Regions from separate parts of the Homo sapiens genome. Here region 2 is linked to region 1. Evidence: promoter capture Hi-C in 16 types of primary human blood cells and fetal thymus (Javierre and others, 2016). All regions are on one chromosome and are shown on one strand. The core of a region is centred on a gene start or on the middle of the fragment in contact, and the rest is flanking DNA. Distances in the headings are between cores, read along the strand shown. Region 1 holds the start of OR56B4 (olfactory receptor family 56 subfamily B member 4). Region 2 holds the start of OR52B2 (olfactory receptor family 52 subfamily B member 2).

Evidence for each region. Contacts are between HindIII fragments. The CHiCAGO score rates a contact against its expected background, and 5 or more counts as called.
Region 2: a contact is called between the fragment with the promoter of OR52B2 here and the fragment with the promoter of OR56B4 in region 1, in 17 of 17 cell types (monocytes, neutrophils, M2 macrophages and 14 more). The highest score is 19.0, in monocytes.

Annotation. Positions count from the first base shown.
Region 1 is chr11:6,104,091-6,110,999 of GRCh38, forward strand. OR56B4 (olfactory receptor family 56 subfamily B member 4) reads left to right here and starts at 3,594. Exons shown (of 1, transcript NM_001005181.2): 1 at 3,594-4,745. The coding sequence starts at 3,689. The coding sequence ends at 4,648. LOC124902622 (a long non-coding RNA gene) reads right to left here. Exons shown (of 3, transcript XR_007062565.1): 2 at 6,174-6,258; 3 at 1-647. The HindIII fragment of the contact is 4,106 bases long and covers 14-4,119 here.
Region 2 is chr11:6,167,578-6,174,486 of GRCh38, forward strand. It overlaps OR52B2 (olfactory receptor family 52 subfamily B member 2), which reads right to left and starts at 2,749. Exons shown (of 1, transcript NM_001004052.1): 1 at 1,778-2,749. The coding sequence starts at 2,749. The coding sequence ends at 1,778. The HindIII fragment of the contact is 5,039 bases long and covers 2,287-6,909 here.

The DNA.
Region 1 (6,909 bases), core at 2,344-4,843:
AAATTAATGAGTAAGCTTATAAATGGAAAATGAGTGCTTGAAAATTAAAATTTACTAAACAATGAAGTGAACACTAAAACAAAATTGATATATCAATTTTCATTCTATTATATTAATAGAATAATTAATAAATATTTTAAATTAAAATTCCCAGTTTTGGCATGGACATGATGAAACAGACACACTCATGAACAAATTCTGTGTGTGTAAAGTACTACAATGTACCTATTTTAGTATACATCATTTTAGTATACATCAAGAGCATTCAAAATCCCCATACTTTCATACAGGGTCAGAATAACCTCTTTAAAAGACAATTTGTCTTGTCAAATCAATATCGTTTCATTCCATTTGACCCAGCAGTTCAGTTCTTGGAAATTATTATGTGGAGAAACTTATACATATGCATAAAGATACAAGAAAAAGTACATTCACAGCTTCATTTTTTATAGTAGAAAATGCTGGAAACAGATTAAAAGCCCAACAAATATACAACCTACAGAATCTTTAAGAAAGTGAGCTTACATTTACTTTTTATGGGTGGATTTTTCCGTGGGCCAACTGACACCTATTGGAGGAAGAAACATGTCTGATAACTTTTTGATGTTTTCTTGCAAACTTCCTTCTGTTTCAAACTCACATGTTTACTGAAAGAAAAACAATTTATGAGGAGAGAAAGGGAGAAAATATTTGCAAAATCTCTGACAAGGGATTAATAACCAGAATATATATGAAACTCACTAGAAAAAAACAGATAATCCAACTAAAAAGGAAGCAGAGGCTGGGTGCGGTGGCTCACGCCTGTAATTCCAGCACTTTGGGAAGCCGAGGCGGGTGGATCACTAGGTCAGGAGATTGAGACCATTCTGGCTAACAGAGTGAAACCCAAAATACAAAAAATTAGCCAAGCATGGTGGTGGGCGCCTGTAGTCCCAGCTACTGGGGAGGCTGAGGCCAGAGGCAGAGCTTGCAGTGAGCCCAGATTGTGCCACTGCACTCCAGCCTGGGCGACAGAGCAAGACTCCGTCTCAAAAAAAAAAAAAAAAAAAAAAGCAGAATATCTGAACAGATATGTCAAAAGAAGACATACAAATGGTGAATAGCTATATTAAAAACTGCTCAACATCACTAATCATTGGGGAAATGAAAATCGAAACCACAAGAGATATCATCTCATTCCAGTTAGAATGGCTATTATCAAAAATATGAAAGTGCAAGCAAAGGTGCAGAGAAAGGGGAATGTTTGTACACTGTTGGTGGGATTGTAAAGTAGTACAGCCATTATGGAAAACAATATGGAGGTTCGTCAAAAAAACTAAAAAGAGAACTACCATATGGTACAGCAACTTCACTGCTGGGTTTATATCCAAAAGAAAGGAAATCAGTAAATAGAAGAGATATCTGCACTGTCATGTTTATTGCAGCACTATTCACAATAGCGAACATATGGAATCAACCTAAGTGTTCATGAATGGATGAATGGATAAAGAAAATATGAGATATATAGAGAGAGATATATATAGATACATACACACTATATATACACACACTGTATATAGTATAGAGAGTGTATATATATATCCAATGTGATACGCACACACACACACAGTGGCCTATTATTCAGCCACAAAAAGGAATAAAATCCTGTCATTTGCAGAAACATGAATGGAACTGGAGGTTATTGTGTTAAGTGAAATAAATCAAGTAGAGAAAGACAAATATTACATGTTCCTACACATGTTTGGGAGCTTAAAAAGTGGATCTCAGCTGGGCACGGTGGCTCACGCCTGTAATCCCAGCACTTTGGGAGGCCAAGGCAGGCAGATCACCTGAGGTCAGGAGTTTGAGACCAGCCTCGCCAACATGGTGAAACCCCATCTCTACTAAAAATACAAAAATTAGCCGGGTGTGGTGGCACACACCTGTAATCCCAGCTACTCGGGAGGCTGAGGCAGGAGAATCGCTTGAACCTGGGAGGTGGAGTTTGCAGTGAGCCGGAAAAAGAAAAAAAGTGGATCTCACAGAAGTAATGAATAGAATGGTGGTTACCAGAGGCCGGAAAGGGTGGGGGTAGGGGAAGAATAGAGGGTGGCTGATGGGGACAAAAATACAGTTAGGTGGAAGAAATAAGTTCTAGTATTCAATAGCACAGTAGGAAAATTATAGTTAATAATTTACTGTATGTTTCAAAATCGCTAAAAGAGAATTGCAATGTTCCTAACACAAAGAAAAGATAAATGCTTGAGGTGATGGATATCCTAATTACACTGATTCGATCATTACACATTGTATACATGTATCAAAATATCACATGTACCTCCAAAATATCTACAAATATGATATATCAATTCTAAAAATACAAAAAAAAATCATTAAACTATAGGGCATCTAGGTGGTAGAAAATAATGCAACTTAACTGCAGTATGGAAATATGGAGCAGTCTTCAAAATATTAAGTTAAAAAAGAAAAGGAAAGAAAAAAGGAGAAAGGTGTGCTAACAATTGATTATGTCTTTTATGAAAATTATATATATATATATATATATATATATATGTTTTTATCCATGCATAAACTATTAATGGAAGGATTCCCAAGAAACATATTACTGGCTGCCTCTAGTGAAAAGGAAAAAGATTTCAAAGCCCCAAGCATGAGAGTCTTACTTTTCATTGTTTATATTTTTCATTTTATTTTGATTTTTACCATGTATAGATAATATATCTTAAAATAAAATCAAAATTATATTTAAAATTTTAAGACTATTATATCCTTTGTATATATAATTTTTGCATCACTTTTGAAACTCTACTCAAGGAAAACAATATTAAAAGCAAAATACCTGTCAGTAAATTATAGAATAGCCAAATGCAAAAATTTAAAGCAGCAATTAAAATTAACATCACACTTTTTAAATAATATTGTGAAGTCTTTGGTTAATGTATTCATCCATGAAATAAAATTTTTGAGTGCTTATATTACATCTTAACACATACTGCTAAAAGACAAAAACAAGATACAAAATCATCTCTAGATAATGATGTAGACTGTTTAAAAATAAAATAGAAAATTGGAAATAAATCAAATACTAACATTTGTTATCTGTTAGTGATAAGACTGTTGTTAATATATGTGGACATGCTTATTAGACATACAAGTGGTGATGAAAAATAGTTATTCCAACTCTTCTGTTTAGAATTTTTTTGCTTTTTTTGTTATTCCTCTGTGGAATATTTCCAGAAGTCAAATAAAGTTGAGGGTCATTCATGAATAAAAGGAGCTGGTTCATTATTGAGGAGCTCTTACCAAGACACTTAACTTTTTGTTTTGTTTTGTTTTTTAAGACAGGGTCTCACTCTGTTGTCCAGGCTGGGGTGCAGTGGCACAATCTCGGCTCACGGCAACCTCCGCCTCCCAGGTTCAATGATTCTCATGCCTCAGCCTCCCAAGTAGCTGGGATTACAGACAGGCACCACCACACCCAGCTAATTTTTGTATTCTCCGCAGAGATGAGATTTTGCCATGTTAGCCAGGTCAGTCTCGAGCTCCTGACCTCAAATTATCTGCCTGTCTCAGCCTCCCAAAGTGCTGGGATTACAGGCATGAACCACGATGCTCAGCCCCTTAGCTGAACTTTTAAACAGAGATTTCTTCTATTTCAGACAGACACTGAGACTGAGGCACCCATTCCATGGATACCTCCACCAGTGTTACCTATGACTCCAGCCTCCAGATTTCCCAGTTCATCCTGATGGGATTACCAGGCATTCATGAGTGGCAGCACTGGCTCTCCCTGCCCCTGACTCTGCTCTACCTCTTAGCTCTTGGTGCCAATCTCCTCATCATAATCACCATTCAACATGAGACCGTGCTACATGAACCCATGTACCATTTGCTGGGCATATTAGCAGTGGTGGACATTGGCCTGGCCACCACCATCATGCCCAAGATCCTGGCCATCTTCTGGTTTGATGCCAAGGCCATTAGCCTCCCCATGTGTTTTGCTCAGATCTATGCCATCCACTGCTTCTTCTGCATAGAGTCAGGCATCTTTCTCTGCATGGCAGTAGACAGATACATAGCCATCTGTCGCCCTCTTCAGTACCCCTCCATAGTCACTAAAGCTTTTGTCTTCAAAGCCACAGGGTTCATCATGCTCAGGAATGGCCTGTTGACCATCCCAGTGCCTATACTGGCTGCCCAGAGACACTACTGTTCCAGGAATGAAATCGAGCACTGCCTCTGCTCTAACTTGGGGGTTATCAGCCTGGCTTGTGATGACATCACTGTGAACAAATTTTACCAACTGATGCTAGCATGGGTCTTGGTTGGGAGTGATATGGCTCTGGTATTTTCTTCCTATGCTGTAATCCTTCACTCTGTGCTGAGGCTGAACTCAGCAGAAGCAATGTCCAAGGCTCTGAGCACTTGTAGCTCCCACCTCATCCTCATCCTCTTCCACACAGGTATCATTGTGCTGTCTGTCACACACCTTGCAGAGAAAAAGATTCCCCTTATTCCTGTGTTCCTTAATGTGCTGCACAATGTCATCCCCCCTGCACTCAACCCCCTGGCCTGTGCACTCAGGATGCACAAACTCAGACTGGGCTTTCAGAGACTGCTTGGACTGGGTCAGGACGTGTCCAAGTAACTCCAGCTTTAGGAATCCAGTAAGATGTTAGGAAATGACAGAGGTTTTAGTTCTCAATAGATCAGGGTTATAATCTGCACTTACCACACTCCCTAGGAAAAAAATGGCCAATAAAATCATGAAAACTGTCAGCCTCACTAATCAAAATATGTATATTAAAATTACAAGAAAATTTCCTATTACCTGGAAAATAAGTAAGAACAAAAAAGTGAAATGTTTCTAACTATTACTGCTAGCCTACCCCGAGATTAACACTTTCCTACACAACTGGTAGGACTATAAACACACCAAAAAGCAATTTGGTAAAATTTATCAAAATGTTTATAAATGTTTAAATGTTCTTAACCAGTAATTCTATTTTAGAAAAATATCCAAAAGAAATAGTCTAAATGCAGTCAAAAAGTTATTCATAAAAATCATTATAATATGACTAATAATAGAAAACAAAGCCTTTAATATTTACACATATTTAACTCTTACATATTTATGTGCTTTTCATATGTAATTTTTATAATAAAAAGTAAACAATAAATGTTTATTAAAAAGGAGTAAAGTTTAATTTTCGTACCCAAAAAAATCTCAATAATTAATGAATTAATGGTTAACAAGTGTTAAATACTTCTTGTAGGCCAGAAACTTTGATAAAATATGTATGTAGATTATCTGACTCAATTCTCACAATAACCCTTTGGGCAGGTACAATATTATTCCCAATTTCCAGCTAAGAAAACTCAGGCACTGGAAATTATAGAACTTGCCCCCTGACAGCACAGTTTCTAAGTGGGAGAGCTGGGATTCAAGTCCTGGGAAGTCTGATTGAAAAACCATAGCACTATTCTTACTCTCAGTCTTGCTCTGTTCCAAAATTTCTGTGTGAACTTGAACAACTTATGAAACCTCCCTATGTTTCAATTCTTCTGATTAAAAGTGACAAAAATCATAACATTTTGCTGAGCCAAATCGCAAACATGCTGTGACAATCAAAAGAGATAAAGAATACATGCTTTGAAATAAGATATACACATGGAAATATAAATCTAACTATGTGGCAGTTTTCTTGCTAGGAAAGGAAGAAAATGGATCCTAGAAAATGCCCTATAAAAATAGTTTCAAATAACCTGTTAATTAAAGCTAACTGAATTTTTGCTGTTTGCTCACCTAAAAAAATTGCACACTTTTTGAGTACAAGAACCATTCATGTGTACTTTCAATGAGCCTCAGTCAGAACATTGCACACAGTAGGTGCTTAATTCATTATATAATCAGGGAGCATTATAGATCTGTTGAATTATGTGTATCAAAGAAAATACCTGGACCATGGTCTGAATAATGACCTCAGGAAGTTTGCACATGAGTCCACCTTGGAAAACAACTTCTTAGGAAATAGCACAAGGACTAAAGCAACATCAGAAACCATCAGCTCATCTCACCAGAGTAATGCATGCTGGGCAGCATAACAGAGCTGCAGGGGGAAGTCATCTGTGTGCGGGACAGGACTTCTTAAGAGTTATGCTTGGAAACTTACCCAAAAAGAGACTATCAACTTCCTCCAAAAGAATTGGCTGCTTCATTCTTTCTTGACAGTGATTCAAATGGAAGCAACTGATCATCTAATAAGAGGAGGCAAGAGAGAGACAATTACAGAAAGGATTTTAACTTAACTCAACCTCCCATGGTTTGTTACCCTGAAGGATCAGAGTAATAACATCTAATCCTGCAGAGTTCTTCACAGTTTGCAAAATACTTTCCCACAGTGGATTGAGTAATTTCACATAATTTTCATAGCAGTCCTCTTAATTAGGAAGCTGTTAAAGGATTACTATTAATTCTTTTCTACAAAGAAATAGGGGCTAAGTTTGGGTAATTATATAAATTCACCCACTGGGAAGTGGCAGTACTGAGGCTCAGGCAGTTTAGCTGTCTCTGGTAGATGGCAATAGTGTGCCATCCTCAAAGCTGCCTTTAAACTTTCATTCATACATACCTTTATTTATTTATTTGTTTATTTATTCATTCATTCAAAAATACATAGCATGAGTCTATGCACAGCAGCCCAAATTGTAGGCCACTCTCAACAACTTCTGTGGACATGTGTCTCAGTTCTTCTGAAAATAAATAAACACCTAACATTCATCTTGGAGTCAGGAAGATTTATGCAATTAATTATTCTCTCCTCTATATGTGCCATGAGGATAAAAAAAGATTGTGCATTGTTTTATTTTTATGAATTATTTATGTTTGTCATGTATTTCATATTTGCC
Region 2 (6,909 bases), core at 1,499-3,998, 63 kb after region 1:
CATAGTTTAGGCTAATGCGTAAAAGATTGAAAACATTGATCTCAGCTAAGAAAGTAATGCAATATCTGAAGTGAAAGATGAGAAAAGTCATAAGTAATTTGTATAGGCAGTGTTGAAAAGACTAACAATACTAGTAAGTATTAACAAAATATTTCTCAGAAACTATGAGCTAAAGATTATGTTAAGTATAGTCATAAGGTTTATTTCATTTAATCTTCTAAATAACCCTGTGAAGGTAACCTATAAAGTACCCATTTTATAGATTTAAAAATTGAGAACCAAAAATGTTAAACAAACTGTGCAAGTTCGCATAGCTAGAAAATGATGATGACAAGACTTGAGTCCTGATATGAGTCCAAATACTATCCATATACTTATTTAGTGGTACAATCAATATAAATATCAACCAATAACTTTTTGAGTATCAGCCCTAAGAGGAGAAAGTTGAAAAAGACTATAGGGTTTCCAGCTCAGTGAAGTTGATGGGATCATCATAATCTAGTTCCCAAGAAATGAAATGTAGGAAGAAAAGTGGAGTGGGAGTTCTACATCCTAGGAAGAATAACCAGTTAATAGGTGGATTTATGTGTCTAACACTCAAAAGAGAGCTTTAGACTAGAGACAGGGATATGGGACTCATTAGTGTTGGTGGTGGCTAAAGAAATGAGTGTACATGACCTTTTCTGGAAAAGCATAAAAGAATAAGAGTTGAGACTGTGAATCCCAAGAGAGTACTCCAATTTTGCCAACCTGGCCATGAACAATGTACTATAATTCCTAATTCTGGGTCTGGTCAAAAACTAGATATAAGAGAGAATCAAGAGTACCCTGTTTCCTCCTACTTTGTCTTTTCGCTGGTCCCTGAGTTACAGCAGAGAGAAGTACTGCAAATCAGCAGTTGATTTGGCTCAATTATGCCAAACTGCCTTCATGAGGAGCTGATTTACTAATCACTGGTTTTGTGAAATAATTTAGCTGGTCATTTCAGTGTACCATAGAGATGCCTGTTCTGATCTCAAGGAGATAATTGCGCTCCCATTCATTTTTCAAAAATGTAGTATGTGTCAGGCATTTTGTAATGCATTGGGGATACAAATATGAATAATATACACTCTTCTGATTTCAAGGAGTTTGCAGTCAATTGAGGGTACAAATAAATGAACAACTCATTACATTACAATTTATTATGCACATTTGGAGATTTGTACAAGATACACTAGACATGCAAACATAGGACCCTTGGCTTGCCTGGAGAAATTAGAAAAGACTCAACTTTTCTTGAACTAAAATTTGAAGGAAAGGAAGTTTTTCCAGATGACCAAAGGTCATGCATGGCTGTTCCTCAAACTCACCTGCCATTGTGGTAGTGGGTGGCAGGCCACTTGATTCTGTACAAAGAATCAATGCACATTTGGGATTTTTTTAAAAAATTAAAACCCCTTAAAATGGTAAATATAAAATTATTTTTATCCACTTCTTTATAACCTCATTTCATGTGGTGTTCAGATCCCTGCGCTTCTGGCGTCTATCTAGTCTACTGAGGGTACCAAAGCCTCATATCAGAGGCATGTACACTTAGTTATTATTTCTGGGTTGTAGGGAGGAATATGTAAAGAGGTTAGAGAAAACAAACAAGAGAAGGAGGAAGAATTATGAGAAAAGAAAGAAAAGTTGGGGGCGGAAGATGAAATAGAAAGAAGAGGAAGAAAAGCCTTCTCAGTCCAGGAAATCTCTGTATTTCACATCTAGCTTCCTTGAAGGAGCTGGACATGAAGATTCATGAGCCCAGAGGGGAGGTACAGCACCAAGTCTTGATGTCAAAGAACCGGTGGGCTACACCCTCACGTATCTGCTTAGTCTTCACACCATAGACAATGGGGTTCAGCATTGGTGGCACTGCCACATAAAGATTGGCCAGCAAGATATGGACATGTTGAGGAATATTACGCCCAAAATGATGGGTCAATAAGGTAAAGAAGGATGGAACATAAAACATAAGGATGACACAGAGGTGGGAGCCACAAGTGCTGAGGGCCTTGTGCCGAGCATCCTGGGAGGGCAAACGAAACACTGCTCGGAGGATCAGTGAGTAAGACACAGCGATGAGGATAACATCCAAGATGACCATGACAATGGGCACTGAGAAGCCATACCAAATGTTAACAGTGATGTCAGCACAGGCTAAACGAGCCACTCCAATATGCTCACAGTAGGAGTGAGGAACAATGTTGGTTAGGCAGAAGGGCAGCCGCTTCAGCAAGAATATGACTGGGAAGATGATGCAGAAGCTTCGGGTGATGACGGCCAGAGCAATCCTCCCCACAACAGGCCATGTTAGCACTGTTGTATATCTCAGTGGGGCACAAATGGCCACAAAGCGATCAAAGGCCATGGCTAACAGGATAGCTGACTCCCCCACAAACATCATATGGACAAAGAAGCCTTGGGTGACACAGGCATCAAAAGCAATGTTATGTGCTTGAAGCCAAAAGATGGCTAGGGCCTTGGGCACAGTGGTGGTAGACAGCAGGATGTCCATGACGGCCAGCATTGAGAGGAAGAAATACATGGGCACATGAAGGTTACGTTCCATGACAATAACCACTATCAGGATGCTGTTTCCCAGGACTGCAGTGATGTAAATGAGGCAAAGAGGTATTGACAGCCAAATGTGATAAGCCTCCAACCCAGGGATGCCAGGAAGGACAAAAACTGCAGGATGGAAGATGGTAACATTGGTGTGACTCATGATGCACTTTATGGTCCTCTCTATAATGACTTAGAAGCTGATGAGTCTACTGAAAGTGATAGAAACAGAAAGCACTCCCGAATATGTATAAATATCATAAAAGACAGCATGGATTTCTAAATTGCTGGACTCTCCAGCAGCAAGTACTCCCAGAGAATGTTCACTTGGTATAGGAATGGCTTCTGGCCCATAGTGCTTCCTTTGCAGATAGAGCTTCTGTGGCAATAATGCTTCAAGTATGAACAGAAGTGGCAGCACCTTCCTGCAACCACCCTGCCCCCAGAGTTTGGCCTCACTCTCCCTTTCTGACCTCATTCTACTATTTCCACACAAGCAGCATTTTCCACCTACCTGTGTTGTACTTGTCCCTTTCCCCAAGATTTTGTTCTGCATTTACCTTTAATTTCCCTCCCCTTCTACTTCTGTTTAACAAAATTTTAACCTTAAAATAAGTCCTCAAGACATACCACTTTGTAATGGTCTGTGTTCATAGCAATATATCTCCTTCCTAAAAAACTATTAACTAAACTATATTTTAACTGGGTTATATTTAATCCTATTAAGTTTATCTGGCTATTGCCTTGAACATTTCACAGGACACTTGCACCTCTGGCCCCTTGTGCAAGGGAGTAGAGTATCAAGTGGGAATCCAGAGGAAGCCTAGAGGGGTACATTTCTCCACTCTGATCCAGATTCATATCTTCCCTAATGCAGTGAGCAATGGGGCAGCCAATGAAACTGAGACAGGCAATTTTCATCACCAGCTCCTCATGGACTTCTCATGCTCCTCCTCAAATATTTCTATACAGGAGCCTCTTGGTTATGTCTGGGCTTCCTTATCTGTAGAAGCCCCCCAGGAAAACGATTCTGAGCAAAAGAAATCAATCTATTGCCCACCTGTAAACTCTGCTGACTCCACTAATACTGCCCTTCTTCCCACCCCACTGTTCCCCAACGCTCAGAAGGAACCATGTTTCCCTGCTGCCAAGAAGGATTAAGTATAGAGCCCTTCTTGGCTTGCCTGCCACTCAGGTAATATTTGTTTCATTCTGAAGTTCTGAACTATCTGTCAGCTATTAGGACTAGGGAAAGAGTGTATGATTAAGAATCTAGAAGGGAACATGAAGAAAAGGGACCACAGAGACAGTAAAGAGAGAATCAGAACTATAAAGGTACCAAATAAACACTAGACTGATCTTCTGATAATGGTATTCAGAGGGCCCCAAAGAAGAGATGCAAAGGAATCAAATCCTCAGTTTATTAGTCCATCCCTCTGCCTCTATGCAAATGAACTTTCTCAGAGCACAGTGGGCTGTGGGGAGGGAGCAATGGGACTCCAGATGGGTACAAGGAAGGGAATAGAGCCAGATCCAGACAAGTAAAGGCCGCAGGCAGGCTAATAATCTGACAGCATTCAAGTCAGTATATTTTAAATATTTGGGCCAGGCACAGTGTCTCATGCCTATAATCCCAGAAGTTTGGGAGGCCAAGATGGGAGGATCGCTTGAGGCCAGGTATTCAAGACCTGCCTAGGTAACATAACAAGACCCTGTCGCTACAAAACAATTTAAAAATTAGCCGGGAATGGTGGCACGCACCTGTAGTCCCAGCTACTTGGAGGCGGAGGCAGGAGGATCTCTTGAGCCCAGGAGTTTGGGGCTGCAGTGAATGAGCTATGATGGCACCACTGCACTCCAGCCTAGGTGATGGAGCAAGACTCTGTCTCTTTAAAATATATATATATACATATATGTATATATATAAAATACATATTATATGTACACATATATGTATATATATATGTGCGTGTGTATATATGTATGTTCAACTTCTACTTAGAAGAGAGGCTGAGCTTTGCTGGAATGAGCACAGAGAAGAAGTCATTAGTAGCACTGCTCTGGCTCTATTTTAAAGTATTGAACTCAAATTTATACAAGCAAAAGCCCCAGCAAAAAAAACAAATTCATTTTCCTTAGGAGGAAATTTATTGGACATTTATTTTCTCACAACTTTCCCAACCCCTCCAGTTATTAACATACTCCTTCTCAATAAAACAGTAAGACACCTGATATACGTCCTCATCAAAACAAGTCTGCTCTCTGCTTATGACTCTGTGATGTTTTATCACTCCAACAGTGAGTACCAAAGGCAGGGTGGAGAGAGGGGCAATGAGGCCTAGATGGCTGTTAATGAGGTCCTGGAAAGGAGGTTACTGCCCATGGAAAGAAGGACTTTCATTTTATCCAGTGGCGTCTTAGAGCTCCATCAAAGCCCTGCTGCTCCTCTGTCAAGCACCTTTGGAGCGTTCGAGCCTCATTTAGGAAAGAGTTAAGGGTGAGAAGAAAGGAAACTCACAGGCAAAAAGAGGAATATCCAACGTCTCCCAGAAGTACCTCCCAGAGCTCCCAAGAGAACATCCAGCTGAGCGAGAAAAAAAAGAGCCAGAATAGTAGAGATGGAGCAGGAGCCAAGCTAGCTGGGAAAGAACACAACAAAGAAGGTGTAGATATTAAGTTCCGGAGCCAGACTTTCTGCATTCATTTCCCAGTTCTTCCCTAACTAACTAGATCTTGGGCAAGTCACTTTACTTCTGCATGCCTCAGTTTTTTTATTTGTAAGATGTGGATACCTGGGGAGGGGGGAGGGATAGCATTGGGAGATATACCTAATGCTAGATGACACGTTAGTGGGTGCAGCGCACCAGCATGGCACATGTATACATATGTAACTAACCTGCACAATGTGCACATGTACCCTAAAACTTAGAGTATAATAAAAAAAAAAATTAAAAAAAAAATTAAAAAAAATAAAAAAAAAAAAAGAATCCCTGATATAAAAAAAAAAAAAAAAAAAAAAAAAAGGATGTGGATACCAAAAAAAACTTCATGTGGTAATTGTGGGGATTAAATAAGTTTGTATTGAGTGCTCAGAAAAGTAGGTTACTATTCTTGTTTATATCATCATCATCATCATCATTATTACCTCTGTTTGGCCATCATTCTCTTGTATTTTTTCCAGTAGGCAAAACACCTTAATGAATATTTAGCAACATTAAAGTCTTATTCTTCATCCAAATATGACCAAAGGAAACTCCTTTCTCAGGAAGAAAGAGGAGGAAAAGGAATGAAGGAAGTGCCCAATGAAAGGAAAATAGCCTGAGACCAGATCTCTCAGATAAACCTGGTGTCTCAAAAACCAGACCCAAGGGCTTTGGGTGGTGCACCAGGCATATCCACTACTGATGGACTTAGCTTGGGTGAGGACTACCTGGCAGTCTTCCTGTAAATGCTCTGAAAAACATCCACCTGTCTCAACACAAAGAGAAATTATCTCCATCATTTACAGAAGCCTCAGGAACATCACAGAACAATGGGAGTCAGCTTCAACTGCAGAACTGAGGAGATTTGGAAGTGGGAATTATAGAGAAGATTTGGTCCACACTTTAAAGGCGAAATGGAGCCCACTTCTCTGCAGCTCCTGACCAGACTTCCTAACCAGCTCTATTTTTTGGTAATAACTGTTTCCTCTTTAGGGGGTTATATAAAGGTCTTTTATGTCTTTATGCAATCTCAATTCAGAAGACTCTCCTTCCATCATAACAATGTATTCAAATGTGTTCACAAACCACATGTGATATAATTTTTAGGTAACTATACAGGAGTTGAGTTACCTTTTTGCCGAGTTGTATTATCTAGATATTTATTTATACAAGTATTAATTTCACTTTGCCATTTTCCTTGTTATGTGCATTTTAGATGTCAAGTATTTTTCACAAGTCTTAGGTTCTTCAAAATGCACAGTCTCTGTACACTAAAGCCATGTCCCTAATGGATAAAACAGCTGCAAACCTCACTACCCCACTGTCCTCTGCTTGTAAGACTGGTCTCTGTTTGCAGCACAATATATTGCAGGCTTTGTTATAATAAGTGTCATAAGAAATTTGTTTCTAATAACATATAAGGTCTCAAAATTTATAAATTATTTACCCTTCTAATATATTGGGGAAAATTCAGATGTATACCTTTAATAAGCTCACTCTTGCCCATGTGCACTTAAAGCTAGCATGTAAGAAGATGTTTTCATAATCTAAAGCCAGTGCTATCCATGATGCAGAGGCACTAAAATTCCCTTAATTCAGACAACCCTTAACAGTAACTCAT